Regions from separate parts of the Homo sapiens genome. Here all the other regions are linked to region 3. The links are contacts of gene promoters, found by promoter capture Hi-C in blood cells and fetal thymus (Javierre and others, 2016). All regions are on one chromosome and are shown on one strand. Each heading gives the region's core, a stretch centred on a gene start or on the middle of the fragment in contact. The rest is flanking DNA. Distances are from core to core; before and after follow the strand shown.

Evidence for each region. Contacts are between HindIII fragments. The CHiCAGO score rates a contact against its expected background, and 5 or more counts as called.
Region 1: the fragment with the promoter of ZFP82 here is called in contact with the fragment with the promoter of ZNF607 in region 3 in 1 of 17 cell types (M1 macrophages); the score reaches 5.2 in M1 macrophages.
Region 2: a contact is called between the fragment with the promoter of ZNF382 here and the fragment with the promoter of ZNF607 in region 3, in 4 of 17 cell types (naive B cells, non-activated CD4 T cells, activated CD4 T cells and 1 more). The highest score is 5.8, in naive B cells.

What each region holds. Positions count from the first base shown.
Region 1 is chr19:36,417,379-36,421,226 of GRCh38, reverse strand. It overlaps ZFP82 (ZFP82 zinc finger protein), which reads left to right and starts at 2,583. Exons shown (of 5, transcript NM_133466.4): 1 at 2,583-2,735. It also overlaps the pseudogene ACOT4P1. RefSeq lists an enhancer at 3,055-3,214. The HindIII fragment of the contact is 3,270 bases long and covers 1,822-3,848 here.
Region 2 is chr19:36,603,886-36,607,229 of GRCh38, reverse strand. ZNF382 (zinc finger protein 382) reads right to left here and starts at 1,917. Exons shown (of 5, transcript NM_032825.5): 1 at 1,883-1,917. It also overlaps a transcript of ZNF529 not described here. RefSeq lists enhancers at 1,466-1,525, 2,506-2,645 and a silencer at 1,886-1,945. The HindIII fragment of the contact is 5,073 bases long and covers 1-3,344 here.
Region 3 is chr19:37,717,703-37,721,118 of GRCh38, reverse strand. It overlaps ZNF607 (zinc finger protein 607), which reads left to right and starts at 1,358. Exons shown (of 5, transcript NM_032689.5): 1 at 1,358-1,850. RefSeq lists silencers at 1,597-1,706, 1,767-1,856. The HindIII fragment of the contact is 3,190 bases long and covers 1-2,078 here.

The DNA of each region.
Region 1 (3,848 bases), core at 1,334-3,833, 1.3 Mb after region 3:
GCAGTGGCCGATCCATAGCTCACTGTAATCTCGATCTCACAGGCTCAAGCTATCCTCCTGCCTTGGCCTTCCGAGTATGTGGGACTACAGGCATGAGTCATCACGCCTGGCCTAAGCCATCACGCCTGGCCTGATTTTTTTTTTTTACTTGGAAAAAAATATATACTTCACTCCCACAAAGTATTATTTTAGACTCCTGCCCCGTTATTCCTAGAGAATTAAAATTTCCAAGTAAAGTAAAAACAAAAAAGTAGTGAAGACAGAAGAGTATTTAACCATATCGCTGTAGAAAATTGTATTGAATATTCTAAGGCATGTGCTTGTCCTTTTTGTGTCTGTTGGTAGAAAAAGAATAAACATTAAACTCAGCTTAGTATTTCCAAAGTAGTAAGAAACACTTTTGCACATAAGGATACTTTGGGAAACCTTGTTTCCCCCACTGTCTTTACACTGAGTGAGTAACAAGGCTCTGTAAAGACGCAGGGGAATTGGTCACTAGCAGGCAAGGCAGACATCAAGCACTGTAAGAAATCAGAGACTGACTTCAAAGAAAACTCAGCGTTTACTGATAAATTGTGTTATATTACCCCATCAATGGCTAGCCTTCATGCCATGAAAATGCATCCATGTTAATGATGTCACTGTCTTACCTAACTGCAGGTGACAGCTGCCATGACATAGAAATGACATTGAACTTAAGGAAAACACTATACTGTTGCAAAATCCTTGTTAAAACCAAACATCTTAAATGCATTTGAAGCAGCGTGTCTAAGCCACGTAAAATCAAACCCTTGATAGTTATTAGCTGGCCTTCTTCTATAAAGAAAGCTTTCTTTTTTCTTTGTGCTTATTTAATGGGGTACAATCAATTATAGACATAATTGGTGGCACAGGGAAAATAATTATTTCAAGTAGTTTTTAAACACTAGCTGTATAACTAAGAGGGACATATAAAAACAGGGATTGGCAAACTTTTTCTTTAAAGGGCCTGATAGTAAATACAGTCAATCTTCATTCACAGATTCTGAATTTGTGAATTCATCTACTTGCTAAAACTTTTTTATAAACCCAGAGTCAATATTTGCAGCACCTTTGTGGTCATTTGTGGACATCCGAAGAGCGGTGAACCTTTTTGAGTCCCTTAACAGGCATGTTCTCAGCCAAAGTCAAACAAAGTGACCCTCTATCTTCTTATTTCAGCTCTCATACTGTAAACAGGTACCCTTTTTGCAGTCCATTTAGTACCTTGGCTTCTCATATTTTTGTTTTTTGCTGGTGATTTTGCTGTTTCAAAGGGACCCCAAATGTAGTAGTACTAAAGTGCTGTTGATGTTCCTATGAATGAGAAAGCGGTCATGTGTCTTACAGAAAAAATACATGTGTTAGATAAGCTTCATTCAGGCATGAGTTATGGAGCTGTTGGCCATGAGTTCAATGTTAATGAATCAATAATATATATTAAAGTGTTTAAATAGAAACACAATAAGGCCAGGCGCGGTGGCTCATGCCTATAATCCCAGCACTTTTGGGAGGCCAAGGCGGGTGGATCACCTGAGGTCAGGAGTTTGAGACCAGCCTGGTCAACATGGTGAAACTCCGTTTCTACAAAATACAAAAATCAGCTGGGCATGGTGACATGCATCTGTATTCCCAGCTACTCTGGGGGCTGAGGCAGGAGAATTGCTGGAACCCGGGAGGCGGAGGAGGTTGCAGTGAGCCAAGATCCCACCACTGCACTCCAGCCTGGGTGACAGAGCAAGACCCTATCTCAAAAAAAAAAAAAAAAAAGAAAAAAAGAAAATAAACACAATAAAATAAGCTTATGCATTCATCGGTTGACTAAAATGTGACCAGATGCTTACAGGAAACTAACCCTGTATTTCCCCTAGAAGCAGTGGAATGGTATTCACTAATTCCGTGTTTGTAGCAAGTTTATAGACCATAACTACTGTGAATAGTGAGAACTGACTGTATTTTAGGCTGCGTGGGCCATCTGGTCTGTGTAACTACTCGAGTCTGTCCTTGTAGCTCAAATATAGCAATAGACAGTACACAATCAAACACGGCTATGTTCCAATAAAACTTTTATTTATGGACACTGAAATTTGACATGTATGATTTTCATATTTCACAAAATATTGTTCTCCTTTTCATTGTTTTTACCATTTAAAAATACAGAAATGGAAAATATAGGAACTGGCTTCCCCGAATCTCCGGAGTCACACGGTCTCAAATCCCAACAGCCACACCCAGTGAAAGAATCCCACCCAGGAGCGCGCCAGGGACAGACTCGCAGCGCCGTCCTCGCTCACAGGGCTCCCTAGTTGGCACTATAGAGAGGCGGTCGCGGGCGCCCCTCTTTAACGCGCCAGCCATCTGTCCCCGCTCCCCTCCAGGCCCTGCCGCGCCGTCCCCAGGCGCTAAGGGACTCGAAGCGCAGCCTCGCTGGGACGGACCTAGCTCCGGCTCCGGGTTCACGCAGAGCAGGGGCTGCACCAGCGAGCGGACCCTTGAGACTGGCCGCGCCTGCGCACTCCGTGAGCGCGCCCGGCCCTCCCAGCAGCCTCCGCGCGCAGCCCGTTAGGCCCCGGGGATTGTGGCGTGACCCGGCAGCGGCTTCCTCCGTTCGGGCATCGCTGTGCCTCGGGTTCGCGCCCCGAGTGAGCAGTCCTGGCCCGGAGCGTCGGTCCTGGTAATCTGTAGGAAAAGCGCTGCGGCCCAGGGGGTAAAGAGAGGTAAGCGGGGCCACTGCAGTATCGCAGAGGGGCGGGAGCCCGCGCCTCAGGCCCGGGTGTGTGTGTCGTGGGCGTGACGGGGCCGGGGCTGGGACGTGACGGAGTCTGTGCGGCTGACTTGGGTGCAGAGACTATTGTATGAGCGAAGGTTGTTGTGGCCGTGGAGTGCGTGACTGACCCCAGCATCCTCTGCCCACACCGGGCCCAGCTGCAGAGAAATGGCCCTCGGTCAGTTTCTGCACGCCAAAGACTCCCAGCAGAAACGCGCAGACTAGGCCGGACCAGGTGGCTCACATCTGTAATCCCAGAGCTCTGGGAGAGCGAGGCGGGAGGATCGCTGGAAGCCAGGAGTTCGAGACCAGCCTGGGCAGCAAAGCGAAACTCCCATCTGTACCAGAAATTTAAAAAATGAGCCGGGTGTGATGGCGTGCTCCTGTGGTCCCAGCCACTCGAGAGGCTGAGGCGGGAGGATGGCTTGAGCCTAGGAGGAGATTGAGGCTGCAGCGAGCTATGATAGCACCACTACTCTCCAGCCTGGGCAACAGCGAAACAAGGCTCAGACCCGACCTTGGGATAGGAATATTAGAACTGAACGAGCCCCCGCTCCCGCCCAGGCTTGCTCCTGGAAGGGACTCCCACACCACCTCCTCGCGGACCCGGACCCACGCACGTGCACTCACAACTCTGAAGAGTCCAGCTGCAGGTTTCAGAACCACAGCATTGCTTCCAGGAAGCTATTGTGAACTCCAGTTCTAGCCCCGGGCATCCATGACCCTGGCCTTTCTTTGATACTGGGAAGAGTTAACAACACCATCTCTCTTATGTTACTCTGGTTATGTGTGGGTGGGCGGTGGGGGCATTGTGCCCTATGCGAGGCTGGGCTGCAAGAAAAGCCTGGTTCCCTTATTAGCCAGTCCTGCCCAATTCTTTAAGAAAAGGGGTCCGAGCGGGAGGAGGAATGAATTGCTGTTGCCTGTTTAAGTCAAGGTCGAGGCGAGTGGGTGTTTCTGCTTTCTTCTGTGAAATGCATTCTTATTTCTTAGGACATGAGAATATTTGTTTCATTCTCCATAAATGTCCTGTCCATTGAGCTGATACCTAGGTCCCCTCCCG
Region 2 (3,344 bases), core at 668-3,167, 1.1 Mb after region 3:
AACGGTTCTTCTTGGACTTTTTGCCAATTTACACTGATAGTAGTGGATGAGAATACCTTCCCAAGCCCTGATGAAGACAGTTGACAACTTTTAAATCTTTGCCTATCTGGTCTATGTTGTAGTTGAGAATAATCTTTTTTTTTTTTTTTTTTGAGACAGAGTTTCACTCTTGTTGCCCAGGCTGGAGTGCAATGGTACAATCTTGACTGACCGCAACCTCCACCTCCCGGGTTCAAGCGATTCTCCTGCCTCAGCCTCCTGAGTAGCTGGGATTACAGGCATGCACCACCATGCCCGGCTAATTTTGTATTTTTAGTAGAGATGGGGTTTCTCCATGTTGGTCAGGCTGGTCTCGAATTCTCGATCTCAGGTGATCTGCCCACCTTGGCCTCCCAAAATGCTGGGATTACAGGCATCAGTCACTGCACCAGGCCCGCAAAATAACTATTTTAATTACTACAGTGAGACTGGACTTATTAAAAATCTATCAAATACTTTTTATTATCTTAGCAAGCCTAAGGGAGTAGGAAACCTCACTCATATACAAGTGTTGAAAGTGGTAGTTATGCCAGGCACAGTGGCTCACACCTGTAATCCCAGTACTTTGGCAGGCCGAGGGGGCGGGGGGAGGGGATCACTTGAGGTCAGGAGTTCAAGACCAGCCTGGGCAACATGGTGAAACCCCATCTCTACTAAAAATACAAAAACTAGCCGAGCGTGGTGGCACAAGCCTGTAGTCCCAGCTACTCAGGAAGCTGGGGCAGGAGAATCACTTGAACTTCAGAGGTAGAGGTGGCAGTGAGCAGAGATCATGCCACTACACTCCAGCCTGGGCAAAAGAGCAAGACCTTGTCTTAAAACAAACAAAAAACAACAACAAAAGTGGTAGTTATGGTAAAAAAAAAAAAAAAAAAAAAATTTCCTGCATGTCCCCAATGGAATGCTATTCATTTCAACATACTGGTTTTAGTTAATATGGTGTTTCCAGGAAATGAATCTGGGAATTATGAAAATCATCTCTTCCCCTCTGATACTGTTATCTCTATTTTATTTGCTAAATTGCTACTTAGTTACAGTTTTGGAGGCAGGCTTAATGGCTACTATTCAGATAATCAAGTCTTACATAACCAACTAGCCATGGTCATAACAGAGTTCCTCAATCATTCAAATATTTAGGTCACTAAGGCCACAAAACCACCAGAAGTAACAGTAGGTTACAAACACATGCAGAGTCACAGTCAATCAAACATCCTTCAGAGAACCACCAACCTACAGGCCCCACTTGTCATTCACAACCTCAGACAGCAGCTAACACGACTCCAGGCAGTCACAACCACACCTACAAATCACTTGCAATTCTCCACACTCAAAGGCAGTCTCAAATGCGACTCACACCTAATCTAAAAATAGACACACGCAGAGGAAACCTCGCGCAGCAACACTACTCCGTTCACTTTTCACACACAATCGGCCACAACATCCCAAAGAGAGGCAAGCACCTAAAATGCAGCAGGTTGGGCGCAGGAGGCCACCCCTATTCAGCGCGCGCCCGCGCGCGCGAACACACAGCGCCCGCTCCGCGCGGGGACCCGCCGCCAGCGATGGCGCTTCCGCGGGATCAGAACGGGCAAAATCCCCCTTCGCGGAGCTCGCTCCGGGTCACCCTCAAGGTCACGCCCATGGACCACGCCCGAGGCCCGGCTCGTACAGATCGGAGCGTCTGGATACCGCGGTCCCGGTTTCCTCCTCAGAATTTCCAGGCCCGGCTCGGACTCTTGGTTACCTCCCTGGCCTCCCCACCCGGTTCCGCGTCCTTAGACAGCTCTCCCGGAACGGAGCTCCCAGTGCCCTCCTTGGCCTCCTCAGCACCCCTGGCACCCACCAAGCCTCACCCCCGGCCCAGGGTGAGTCGTCTGCGCCTGCGCACTCGCGCGTGGGCCTGAGCTCCCAGGAGTCTCCGGGGCGGCCCGTTAGTCGCCGCGCGGTGCTAGCTGCCGGCGCTCCCCTCCGTTTGCACCCACGGCCGCCCTATTGCGGCTGGCACTACGCTTCTGCCAGGACCCCGGCTCCCTTTTCCGTTGACCTGGTGTTCGTTTTCCATGTGGTGAGTTGAGGTGACCCGGGTCTGGATGCGAGAAGAGCTCACGGCAGGGGACCTGGGTTCATGGGACGCGGAGAGGGTTTGTGGAGGCAGAAGCCCCAGGCCTGTGTGCAAGTCACCTGCTGGGGAGGGAGACTGTGTGATTGTGTTTGTGTGTGCCGTTCTGTGGCTGCGTCCGTGTGTGGTGGTGTGAGTGGGCGCGCCTGTGATGGTCCCGGGGGGGCGGGGGGTGTGCACAGCAGGGGGTGTGTGTGCACAGCAGGTGCACAGCCCGGGACAGCCCTGACTGTCCCCGATTGGGCCCGCGGGACTGAGTGGGGGCGGGGCCGTTTGTGTGACGGCGCTGAGCGGTGACTATGAATGTGTCATGCTGTTATCAGTGATCCTGTGACAGCGCTGTTGTGACCCACTGGAGACTGTGATCAAAACTGGCCTGGTGCAGCTTTTGTAGAGTTTGATTTCTGCAGTTCTGGGGCTCAGGAATACGTGGACAAGGTCCCCGTATGGCTCGATCTGTGTCTGTGAAGACTCTGAGACCTTCTGTTCTAAAGCATGGCCCCTGTCGCTTTCATAATGCATAATACACAGTGGCATGCAGCCTCGCCAACCTCTGGGGCCAATTTTAAGTTACGTGGTTTCTTGGAGTTTGTTATACTGGGATTTCTTTCACTGCCTCAGTCATTTCACCTTATAACCACGTTGCACAGTGTGCAGTCAAATGGCTATCGAAAAGAAAGTTGGATATTTGAGATCCAGAATGAAGTTTCCAACTGAAAAAGCACAGCCTTGTGTTTCACATGGACAAGGCTGTGTTCTGATATGCACAGCCTCGTGTTTGATATGGAGATGTTAGAGCTGGAATTGCTCCCAAGGCAAGGTTCTGGGAAGATATGATATTGAGGCCCCAGGAGTAGGATTCGTTTCTCCAAAGATTTTGTGTGTGTGTGTGAGATGGAGTTTTGCTCTTGTTGCCCAGGCTGGAGTGCAGTGGCGCAATCTCGGCTCATTGCAACCTCCGCCTTCCGGGTTCAAGCAATTCTCCTGCCTCAGCCTCCCGAGTAGCTGGGATTACAGGCATGCACCACCATGCCCGGCTCATTTTTGTATTTTTAGTAGAGACGGGGTTTCACCATGTTGGTCAGACTGGTCTCGAACTCCTGACCTCAGGTGATCCACCCGCCTCGGCTTCCCAAAGTGCTGGGATTACAGGCGTGAGCCACCGTGCCTAGCCAAAAGATCCCTT
Region 3 (3,416 bases), core at 109-2,608:
GAAAATCGCTTGAACCTGGGAGGTGGAGGTTGCAGTGAGCCAAGATCGTGCCATTGCACTCCAGCCTGGGCAACTAGAGCAAAACTCCGTCTCAAAAAGAGAAAAAAGAAAAAGAAAATAATATGTGGAGTCAATTTAATCCATTGATCTATGTGTGGTATTTCTGAGAGATTATTCAGGAGATTCAGGAGCAACAAATCCAAGAACTAATTAAGAGAAGAAAAAGTGATCAATAAGTTCTTAAATTGTAACTTTAATAGTTTTTTTTCCTTGACTATTTGTATTTTTGAATGGTGATTTTTTAGTTTTGTTCCTTTTCCTCTTAGGGTATAGACAAATATTTTTTATTTTTAAATTAATTTTACTTATTTATTTTTTGAGACAAGGTCTTGCTCTGTTGCTCAGGCCAGAGTGCGGTGACACCATCATACCTCACTGAAGCCTGAACTTCCGGGCTCAACTGATCCTCCTACCTTTGTCTTTGGAATAGCTGGGCCCACAGGCGTGTGCCACCACACCAGGCTAACTTTCATTTTTGGTAGAGTTTGGGAGGAGGAGAGGGGTGTCTCACTATGTTTCTTAGGCTGGTTTTGAACTTCTGGCCTCAACTGATCCTCCTGCCTTGGCCTCCGAAAATGCTGGGATTAAAGGCGTGAGCCACCGTGCCCAGCCTGTATTCATCAATATTTTATTAAGCCAAAGAAACAGGAAATTCGGACTATTAAATATTTGTCCGTTTTAGCTGTTGTAAATATTTCCCCCAAATTTACTTACCTAAAAATTTTTCTTATTCGTTTTTTACCATTTGGAAATTTTGGATGCTTCTAAATAACTATGAAGATTTACAAAGTATTACATGAAGGATCAAAAAAATTTTTTAAATTTCTTATTTTATCTTCAAGAAGCCTATTCCAGAACAAAAATAATAAAACTATTTAGCAGTTATTTCTTCAGATGATTTTTTAGTCAAATTTTTAGTCAAATATATTCGTGTCCAAAGATGAAGAACATAATGTCATGTATTGAAGAATGTGATGGAACTTCAAACCCTCATATAGGACGTGAGTCCATTTACTTAGCGCTTGACGAGACAAGCTGGGCCTGTCGGGTGGTATTAAAAGTCCCAGTCCCATGTGTTACCAAGGAGGCCGGCTCTACCTCAGGAGCCATGAGGGTTTCGGCGCCCCACCCTGAGGAGCTCACACCCATCCAGCAGGTGATCCCTTCCGAGGCTACCTGGATCAGTTTCTACTCAGACTCGCCTCCTACTGGCCCTAAGAACGCACTAACTCCACCCTAAGCCTCAGGCCAGGGGCCCAGTAGTGGCCGATCTGCGCATGCGCACTCGAGGCAAGGCGGCCACTCCCAGAAGTCTCCGGGGCTCGAGCGGTGGGTGGGAGGCGCGGTCCAAGTGGTCGCTGCCGTATTTCTCGTAGGTTTTTAGGATTCTGGACTCCATTTCTCACCGGTACCTGCGGTCCTGACTGTTCTGGCTTGGACTACATATTACAAAGGCAACGGAGAAAACTTGGACCCCTGGCTCCGGTTCCGGGACCTTTTGGTTCCACCTGAAGAAGGCGGCGCAGGTCACTGCGGGAGCCTCTGCAGCCCCAGCCCGCCGCCCGCGTGGTACCCTGCGTGGCGGTGAGAGTGGGGCTGCAGGAGGCGCTCAGAGCGCGGAGGCCCCCAGGCGGGCCGGGCGAGTCTCCCGCCTCCTCAGGCCCTAGGGTGCTGGAGCTGCGGAGGAGGGGCCCGTCTCTAGGAGACAGGCGGGGAGCGTGAGAGACCGCGCAGCGGCGACAGGACCGGCTTGCCTGTGTGACGTGGGTGCAGTTGCGGGACTGTGAGGGGTGCGTAGTCGACCTTGTGTGACCTGTACATGCCGTGTGTGTCCTTTGTAAAGCGTGCTTCGCTGGGCTCTGTGGGGTCTATTGACCCTTGGCTCCAGGTTCCCTGCTGCTTCCTGTGCCTTCCTCAGCCTAGTACGACTACAACAGAGAAATGGTCCCAATGGGAAATCAGATACTGAGTCTTAGATGAAGATTTCCAGTGAGAAGAAACAGATAGGATGAGAAGCTTAGAAGAGTAATTGCCCTTAAGAAAGGTATGATAGATTCTGTTAAATAAAAAAGTATTCAGTGACACTTGTTAAAGCATGCAAAGAACCCTTTATTCAGGACCATGGTGGTAGGTATTGGGATCCCGGCTGTGAGATTTTGCAGTGGGTAACAGACATTGGGCTCAACTCCGAATTCAGCATGAACAAGTGGGAATTTATAGCCAAGAAGGTTAGGGATCACTGGATGAGAAATTACTAAGAGGAAATGTCTGGGTTAAGGAAGATTCTGACTAAACGCACCTAACAGGATTATTTCTGGAGAGAGAGACCTGGGGGACGGTGGAGGATGAAGATACGGAGGCGAAAGGGTCTTGCTAAACTGACTTAGAATAGTTCTTTGCTATAGCCAGATTTTACAGTGAAGTGTACAGATGGGCCTAGCTGAAGGTGTAGTAGCCTGACTAAAATTTGGTCTGGCAGGGTTTGTCAGTTTCGAGTGTAGGATTCCCTCCTGAAAAGGGTTGTTACTCCGCCCCCACCTCCCGGTTCTTGGAGTTTCATTTACATGTTTAACAAACACGGCCTTGAATTCTGACCCCAAGAACCTGCAGTGAAGGATGATTGCAGGTTCCATCCAACATACTTCCTTCTGGTCGTGTGTATGAAATTACGCGCCTGCAGCCTTGGAGGGGGGAAACATAAGCGCTAAGTATTATGAGGCAATTTTGGATATTCCGTTTTGGATTTCTGTAGATCAAAAGCAACAAGAATATGAACTTAGCCGTGATGTGAAGGAAGTGAGCCAGAATTTAAGTTTTCCAAAATAGGAATTCTCGGTCATTGGTGTACTGTCTGTAGACCAATGCCCTTATGGGCATAAGGGACATCACAAACCCCCTGAAATTCTATAAAGAATTCCTGTACATGTTTGTTAATTTGCATTTTTCTAGGATGTCCATAATCCAAATTATTTAGACTCAGGTTTTAGATCTGGAATCAAAGAGTTTTATACCTTTGAATGGTTTTGCAGAAAACTAATGAACGAGATTATGGGAATGGTTAAGAAAATTATACAGCGTCCAAGGGATTGGATATTATACAAATAATAAGATTTATGTTTGTAAAGAATCTGTCACAGGATAAATAGCTGTGATCTAATGTTTAACACTATTTAGAGTTACAGTGGTGGATCACAGTTCTCAAACTATATATGCAACTCTTTTTCTTTCTTTTTTTTTTTTTTTTTTTTTTTTGAGACTGAGTTCCGCTCTTGTTGCCCAGGCTGGAGTGCAATGGTGCGATCTCTGCTCACTGCAACCTCCGCCTCCCGGGTTCAAGCGATTCTCCTGCCTCAGCC